2 separate regions of the Homo sapiens genome follow, and region 2 is linked to region 1. Evidence: promoter capture Hi-C in 16 types of primary human blood cells and fetal thymus (Javierre and others, 2016). All regions are on one chromosome and are shown on one strand. Each heading gives the region's core, a stretch centred on a gene start or on the middle of the fragment in contact. The rest is flanking DNA. Distances are from core to core; before and after follow the strand shown.

Region 1 (4,423 bases), core at 797-3,296:
GTCAAGAGATCAAGACCACCCTGGCCAACATGTTGAAACCCAGTCTCTACTAAAAATACAAAAATTAGCTGGGCGTGGTGACGTGCGCCTGTAGTGCCAGCTACTCAGGAGGCTGAGGCAGGAGAATTGCTTGAACTGGGAGGTTGCAGTGAGCCCAGATCGTGCCACCGCACTTCAGCCTGGTGACAGAGCGAGACTCCGCCTCAAAAAAAAAAAAAAAAAAAAAAGAAATGTAATGTGTCTTGTTTACCCTTGTAACCTTAATGCCTGCAGCCCTGCTTGACAAATAAACCAGGTGCTTAATAAATATCTGTCAACTGCCAGACAACGCAAAAATGACTTTAAAGAAGGTCCATAACGTTTAATCTAGTGACAAACTGGTGAGGGTAAAAGACATGGATAATCTTCACATTTATAGAACACTGAAAGCCACCAGCAAGGATGGAGAATGAAGAGTATTTCAGATGCAGGAGAACATCCAAATACTCAAAAAGCAATTGAAAAGGAATTTTTCCCACGCTATGTGCATGCACATTGTAGAAATGTTCCCCCAACTCATAAACAGCAATTGAAAAAAACAAGTAATTCAAAACACTGTGGGCTGGGCGCAGTAGCTCAGGCCTGTAATCCCAGCACTTTGGGAGGCCTAAGCAGGCGAATCACCTGAGGTCAGGAGTTCAAGACCAGCCTGGCCAACATGGTGAAACCCCATCTCCACTAAAAATACAAAATTAGCCGGGCATGGTGGCGCATGCCAGTAATCCCAGCTACATGGAAGGCTAAGGCAGAAGAATTGCTTGAACCCGGGAGGCGGAGGTTGCAGTGAGCCGAGATCGCACCACTGCACTCCAGCCTGGGTGACAAGAGCAAAACTCCATCTCAAAACAAAAAAACTGTGTACTTCTCTTATCTCACGCGACTCTTTTGGAAGGATCTTCCAGATACTGTATAAGGGCAAAAGAAGCAAAGTATAGCTCATTTGTTCATGTGTCTGTCTTGAAAAGGAATGTAAGATTCTAAAGGGTAGGCAACAGTGTTTTGAATGTTTTTAAGCGATTATTATGTAGTCAGTTGTCAATCAGATCAAAGTGATTATTTCCGATACTTTACTACGAAGGTAGGCTTGGCCAGGTCTAGTTCAAAGACGTTTATGTTGAACAGTCACAATCTATAGCGAACGTTAATATTTTGCATCTTATCTTCAAAATTTAAACGCCCAGGGTACTGGCCTTCAACTGTTAATATTAATCCATGGGGCAAAGATGTGGACTTAACATTAATAACAGTCTGCAATTCACAGATGTTTTATTTGCATGCACGTAATGGTAGGGAATGGTCCAGACTCTCTAGAGGGTAAGCAAGTGCTAGAAAGCGTGTGAGGATCTTATTTCACCAGACCCTAAGGGTTGAGACAAGAAGTCTAGCATGCACGTAGGATACTCCTCCCCAAAGCTATCAATCTTTGCAGTCTGCGGAAACAAAAGTGAAAACACTCGGGGTAAGGATGCATGAGATGCCCCCCCCCACACACACACACAAACACACAGAGTTGTGTATTCGTGTGAGCACGTAAATATGTAGAAGAATACACGCACTCTCACCTTCCCTCCTTCGAAGGAAAATGGGGCCGCGGGAGAGGCGGCCAAGATCGGGTTGGGGAGGCCCGGGATCCAGTCCAGGGGGTGGCAGGGCTTACGGGTCAGCGCTCTGGGGAGCCGAGGTCACTTACAGGATACCATCTTCCCGGGCCTCCCCCTTTCATCCCTCTCCCCACACCTCGTCGCCCCCAACTCCTCTCCTCCGCCCCAGCCCCGCCACCCATTAACCGGGAAGGGAAGTTTCCCGGCGCCTGCAGCCCGGCTCCCCGACCCTCAGCGGGGTTACCTTCTGCAGAAGCAGGGCAAGGGGCAGGGGACAAGGGGAGGGGGAGGCAGCCCGAAGGAGTGAAAGACGAAGCCCCGGCGAGGAAGGTGGGCGGAGGCGGCGGCGGCGGCGGCTGTCAGCTCGCGTTCCCCTGCTCACAGCGCTGCCATTACTGTGCGCCGAGGCCGCCTCCCCGGCCGGCCGCCGCCACCGGCCCCGGAGACGCGGGGGGTGGGGAGCGAAGCCCGGGGAGCCCGCGCGCCGACACTCACCTGTCTCCGCGAGGAAAGACAGCAAAGTCCAAGGCCGCCGCCGCTCCCCGGCGGGACAGGGGCGGTAGGGAGGGGGGGAAAGGGGAGAAGGACGGGCCGATCACGGGATCCGTAAAACAATCGTCCTCCTCTGCCTCCGGCTTTGCCCAACACACACCCTCCGGTCTCCTTCTTCCGCTGCTGCCAAATCCCCCCCGCCACCCGGAAAGCAATGGTACAGGCCGCGTTACGGCAAGCGCAGGGAGCCAAGCTTCGTGTGATTGCGAAAGGCCACGGAAATTAATATTCCAAGTGATTCCTTGCTGGGCTTGCTGTCAATGAGGCAATTGCGGTTCGCTGAGCTGATGGACACAGTACCCACCCACTACCCGTTAGTTCAGGGACTGCTAATAACAATATGTTGGAATGGTGCTTTCAACAGAAGTATGTTTTCCTTGTTTCAGACCTATGTGAATATCCTAAGACACCACAATCCTCTTGCCACACACTTCCATGGGCTTTGCAAATGATCAAAAATAAATTAGCAAAACTACTTTTCCTCTCTGACAAACTCTTTTTCTTGTTAGTTTTTATCTACAGAGAATTTCTTGGACATACATGTATTTTCGATAAAGAAACTTCACATCTTTTTCACTAATACCCCACCTTCACCAAGCCCCAAGCCTATCAGTTTGAAGGGTTTTCCTCCCTTGGAGTTTTAAACGGTAAAGCTGATAAAAATATAGAATTACTCATCACCTCCTCATATATGCAGGGCCACAGAGGAACAAAAGCCCGGCCTTAGTGCTTTTTGCCTTTCATATCCTCAAGAGCTCACCATCAGGGTCTTGTTCATTTATACGATTCAGCAAGCTTTTCCCTCCCATCCCTTCCTTCCAAACTGCACGAACCCTTCAAGGCCCATTTAAAACCCTGCCTCCAGACCTGATCAGTCCCTAGAGCCTTCCTCCTCTTCTAATCTGCTTCTCTTGGTACTTGAAGTCTCTACTCTTTATTTCAGTAAAGGGTTTTTATATACGAAATTCAATCCAACAGTATGTTTCCATTATGTGACCTTTTTTTCCTCCCATGTTTTCCCCCTTTTAATCTAGTGATTCTCAAAGTGTGGTCCCCAGACCTCTGGAAATCCCTGAGACCTTTACAGAGGTCATAAGGTTAACAACTAGTTTGTTAACAATGCAATATGTCTGGTCCTTTTTTTTTTTGGATACAGAGTCTTGCTCTGTCACCCAGGCTGGAATGCAGTGGCGGCACAATCTCAGCTCACTGCAACCTGCACCTCCCGGGTTCAAGTGATTCTCCTGTCTCAGCTTCCCGAGTAGCTGGTATTACAGAAGCCCGCCACCACACCCGGCTAATTTTTTGTATTTTGTAGAGACAGGGTTTCACCATGTCACCACATTGCCCAGGCTGGTCTTGAACTCCTGAGCTCAGGCAATCCACCCACCTCAGCCTCCCAAAGTGCTAGGATTACAGGCCTGAGCCACCGTGTCAGGCCCCCCCTGCTTTTTGTTTTGTTTTGTTTTTGTTTTTGACACAGGGTCTCCCTCTGTCGCTGAGGCTGGAGTGCAGGAGTGCAGTGGCCTGATCATAGCTCACTGCGGCCTCAAACTCCTGGGCTCAAGCGAGTGTACCATCTCAGTTTCCGAAGCAGCTGTGACTACAGGCGCGTGCGCCACCACACCCAGCTAATTTTTGTATTTTTGGTAGACATGGGGTCTCACTATGTTGCCCAGGCTCCTCTGGAACTCCTGAGCTCAAGCGATCTGCCCACCTCAGCCTCCCAAAAGTTCTGGGATTACAGGAGTGAGCCACCATGCCTGGCCTCCTCTGTCTTTTTGACTGAGTTTGTTTTTGTACTGATGGTGCAAAGGAATACGGACACTATTGATGCCTTAGCAGGGATCAAGACAGTGCCACCAACCTGTCCGGGTGGTCATTGGATCGCTGTATTCTTCACTGCCATACATTCCCAGTTTTTAAGGCTATTGATTTAGGAATATCCTGGATGAAGCGGAAGCATTAATTTTATTAAATTTTGGCCCTTGAATACAAGTCTTTCTAATACTCTGTGTGAAGAAATGGGAAGTACACATGCACTTCTGCATGCCAAAGTGGGATGGCTGTCTTGAAGAAAAGCACTTGTGTGGTTGACTTACAGGCTGAACTACCTGCATTTTTCATGGTGAAACTGCCTTTGCAAAACATGATAGTAAGAGGAATCTGACCTCATTGATTTAATCTTGCTTCTGACCTCCAAGGTGTTCCTGGTCATTCCTGGGCATAGG
Region 2 (4,423 bases), core at 1,111-3,610, 1.8 Mb after region 1:
CTTATCTTTTGGAAAGCATCCCAGGTTTGCTTATTCTCTGCCTTCAATATTGAGTTGAAGGATTTTGGGAAAAGGGACTTGTGAAACATATCCCTTCTATTCCTGGAAAACTAGAAATATAAAGTGTTAATAATATCAGTGTCACTGTGACCTCCTCCACTGACAGGACTGGTTTATGCCAGGTCATTTTTCTGGCACACAGGGAATAGCTTTGACAGATTGGTAGCTTTTTTTTTTAAGATGGGAGACATCTAAAATATTTATGTTTTCCTCTCTTAGTCCCTTCTCTAATATTTAGAAATGTTCTCAGACTTTAAAACAATGCACAAGGCTTCAGTTTTCTGTCATTTGACTTTAGAAGGAAATGTTTGTTGATAATAATTATCCTCTTATATAAAATTTATGTATAAAAATCTCACCTCCGAATATATTAAATGACAAAATTACTTTATAAAATGTTTATGCACACTTTATAACCTTAAGTTTTCATTTGGCCATGTAAAAGTACAAGGTGCAGTAGACTTCAACAGTCTTGAGTGCCAGGAATAATTCAGAAAGAGAAAATAGTTGACAAATGAATTGAAAGAGTCCTAATCCAAAGATGGTAAAAATGTAGAAAGACCTTGATGGCTTTCTGGGTATCAGTTTCTTAAGCAGTCCAAACCTAAGCTTAGAAGAAAAGCTCAGCATTGAGCACTTTCACCTTCATGGGTAAGTTTCAGCTTACTCTTGCCAAGAGAAGAAGGCAGAATTAGTTTGAAGTATGCAGCCTTTTTGTAAACTTTCCAGATATCGAAATAAATTTTGATATATAAATGCATTTTCTGAGATGATATGCCTCAGTTTCTATAGCCATTTCACCTGGAATATCTAATCAGTCCTATGAGTGTATTCCTACATGTGCCCAGCTTCTATGAAAACCAATTCACTGCCTTATGGCAATTAAGTACGTTATTTAAGGAGGAAAAAAATTAAATTGTTGAATCGAATGTGTAGGCTTCTTACCATTATAGAATTTCTCTTTGCACATTAGTTAATGACTTAATCTAAATTTTAAGTGTTTAAAAATAGTTAATTGTCCTTCATCAAACTTGTATTAAATAGGTCCATTTATGTATGGAAGAGGGAAAGAGTTCATATAAGCTGGACACAAGCTCATGTGCCTGTGAGTCAGTAAAGACTGAAGTAATGTCCCATGTTGAGTTGGTTATTTTGATATATGATGATTAACATCTTTGAGGTAAAACAATTTTTTAACTGGAAAATCACAAGATATATTCATCATATTTTTCAAGAAAGATAGTTTTTTTCCTGCATGGCAAATAGGTTAAAGTAACACTCTATGGAAATTGCATTTAGGTTCTAAAAAAATAATCTGTAGAGATATCTATGCAATATATAGTTCGTTCAGATTAGTTTTCATTCGGGGAATGAAGTTCTGAAATGTCTCCAAAGTAGTTTACTCATCAATTTAAAAGTCCTCCAATAGGAGAATGATTGGACCATGGTGTGTGGTAGTGGAAAAGAAAAGCTCCCTCCGTTTTTTGAAGGGAATAACTTTAAAAAACACTTAAACTTTTGTTTACTTGGTACAGTTAAGAATTCAACTTGTCGGCCGGGCGCGGTGGCTCACGCCTATAATCCCAGCATTTTGGGAGGCTGAGGTGAGCGGATCACGAGGTCAGGAGATCGAGACCATCCTGGCTAACATGGTGAAACCCCGCCTCTACTAAAAATACAAAAAATTAGCTGGGCGTGGTGGCAGGCACCTGTAGTCCCAGGTACTCGGGAGGCTGAGGCAGGAGAATGGCGTGAACCCGGGAGGCGGAGGTTGCAGTGAGCCGAGATTGCGCCATTGCACTCTAGCCTGGGTGACAGAGCGAGACTCCGTCTCAAAAAAAAAAAAAAAGAATTGAACTTGTCAATTTTAACAGTGTTTATACCTGAAATAAACTTATGTGATGTTCAAACAAAAGGATGTGTATGGCAGCATTGTCCATAATAGAATATTACTATAATCAGCTCAAAATCTACATCAACAAAAGAATGGACATAGAAAAAAATAGACTATTCATACAATGGAATCAGAGTTGGCAATAAAATTAAAGAGCTAGAGCTTCAAGTAACTAGTTGATGAATCTCAGAAAAAAAAAACTGACGAATAAAAATAAGTCACAGAGAAAATCATTAAACATGACTCTATCTGCATAATATAAAAGATAGGCCAGAATAAACAATATTTTGTTTGGGAATACATTTTCTTTTTTTGTTTCTGTTATTGTTTTGTTTGTTCGTTTTTGTTTGGGATGGCGTCTGGCTCTTGTTGCCCAGTCTGGAGTGCAATGGAACCATCTCGGCTCACTACAACCTCCACCTCCTGGGTTCAAGTGATTCTCCTACCTCAGCCTCCCAAGTAGCTGGGATTATTGGCACGTGCCACTACACACGGCTAATTTTTGTATTTTTAGTATAGACGGGGTTTCACCATGTTGGCCAGGCTGGTCTTGAATTCCTGACCTCAGGTGATCCACCCGCCACGGCCTCCCAAAGTGCTGGGATTATAGGTGTGAGCCATGTGCAATGGCAGGATCTCGGGTCACTGCAACCTCCGCCTCCTGGGTTCAGGCGATTCTCCTACCTCAGCCTCCCGAGTAGCTGGGATTACAGGCGTGGGCCACCATACCCGGCTAATTTTTGTATTTTTAATAGAGACAGGGTTTCATCAGGTTGGCCAGGCTAGTATCAAACTCCTGACCTCAGGTGATCCGCCCGCCTCAACCTCCCAAAGTGCTGAGATTACAGGCGTGAGCCACTGCGCCCAGCCTTGGAATACATTTATATGTGTTAAAACTATATAAAAGAGAAAGTGACTGACGAATGGTGAATGATTATAGCGGCAAGAAAACATGGAGATTTTAAGTGCAGACTCGGGAATTAAACTGCTCTGCTTCCAGCTCTACCACTAATTAACTGCGTGACTTACTTGACCTTGGTCAGTTGTCCAATATCTCTATGCCACAGTGTCCTTATCTAAAGAAGGGTGGTACATGCACCTATGTCATACGATTATATATGGATAAGTGACTTTAAATCTCATCGCATGTGTGTTTATTATTCAGACTGAGTTCTAGATGATAGTTACCTCTAGTGGGGATGAGGAGGCAGAGCAATGCAATTTGAAAGGGGAGTACTGGGGCCCCAAACATTTTCTCAAATCAACTGCATCACATGGTTGATACAGCCTCAGTAACACTTTATTGGCCTGACATGGTGGCTCATGCCTGTAATCCCAGCACTTTGGGAGGCTGAGGCGGGTGGATCACCTGAGGTCAGGAGTTCGAGACCAGTCTGGCCAACATGGTGAAATGCCATCTCTACTAAAAATACAAAAAATTAGCCAGGCATGGTGGCAGGCGCCTGTAATCCCAGCTACTCGGGAGTCTGAGGCAGGAGAATTGCTTGAACCGGGAGGCAGAGGTGGCAGTGATCTGAGATGGCATCATAGTACTCCAGCATGCACAACAAGAGTGAAACTGTCTCAAAAAAAAACAACAACATTTTATGTTATTTTTGTAAACTCCACATATACACTGCATGTCTCTTCTATGTGTCTTATATTTTACATTTTTTAAAGTTAGGTTTTAGACTAGGAAATTATTTTCCCATTTCTTTCCTTGAAAAAGTACAATAGACCAACCAGGGCAATATAGTGAGACCTTGTCTCTACAGGTGGCACGTGCCTGTAGTTCCAGCTACTTGGGCGGCTGAGATGGGAGGACAGCTTGAGGCCCAGAGGTTGAAGCTGCAGTGACCTATGATCGCACCACTGCACTCCAGCCTGGGAGACAGAGTGATATTCAGTCTCAAAAAAAAAAAAAAAGTACAATATATCACTTAAACTGAAAGTTTAAGATTGATAAACAAATGTGTTTATTCTTCTATTTCCAAAAATTGGTATTTAAATATTACTTGTTGCTAAATTGACTTCCTTTTAAACGGCACTTGGTGTACACATACCAAATAGTTTTCAATCTGTGCATTTGGCTATGGTGAAGCTTCTAAGGAATAAACTATTTCCTCTGGGCAAGGATCCGTTTGTAGGACTATGAAACTATCAATTTGCCTTAAGAATTTGGTATGGCTTAGTAAATTTGTAGCTGGCATGGCCTCTCTGGTTTAATTCGTATTTAAGGAAAGTAAAGTACAGTAAATCAGTTTTTCCAAAGTGACTTCGTTTTTCTTACAAGTCCTCCCAATGCATTGTTCATGTCTCAATAAACACAAAAATTTCTTGTAGCTTTTTTCCAATGGCTCAGGAGACACAGATGACAAAACATGGGTTCATGTCCTACGTTAAACCAGTCTGGAGCCTTCTATCACTGGTCTGCAGTGATGGAAATCTGTCCTGATATGTCATCTTTGA

The links. Contacts are between HindIII fragments. The CHiCAGO score rates a contact against its expected background, and 5 or more counts as called.
Region 2: a fragment that was not itself captured here is called in contact with the fragment with the promoter of CUL2 in region 1 in 1 of 17 cell types (total B cells); the score reaches 5.2 in total B cells.

What each region holds. Positions count from the first base shown.
Region 1 is chr10:35,088,295-35,092,717 of GRCh38, forward strand. CUL2 (cullin 2) reads right to left here and starts at 2,047. Exons shown (of 21, transcript NM_003591.4): 1 at 1,885-2,047. RefSeq lists silencers at 1,818-1,947, 1,968-2,167, 2,221-2,409 and an enhancer at 2,328-2,467. The HindIII fragment of the contact is 6,346 bases long and covers 1-2,383 here.
Region 2 is chr10:36,868,210-36,872,632 of GRCh38, forward strand. No RefSeq gene overlaps it. Among named protein-coding and RNA genes, the nearest start is that of ANKRD30A, 260 kb to the right of the region's middle. The HindIII fragment of the contact is 3,386 bases long and covers 668-4,053 here.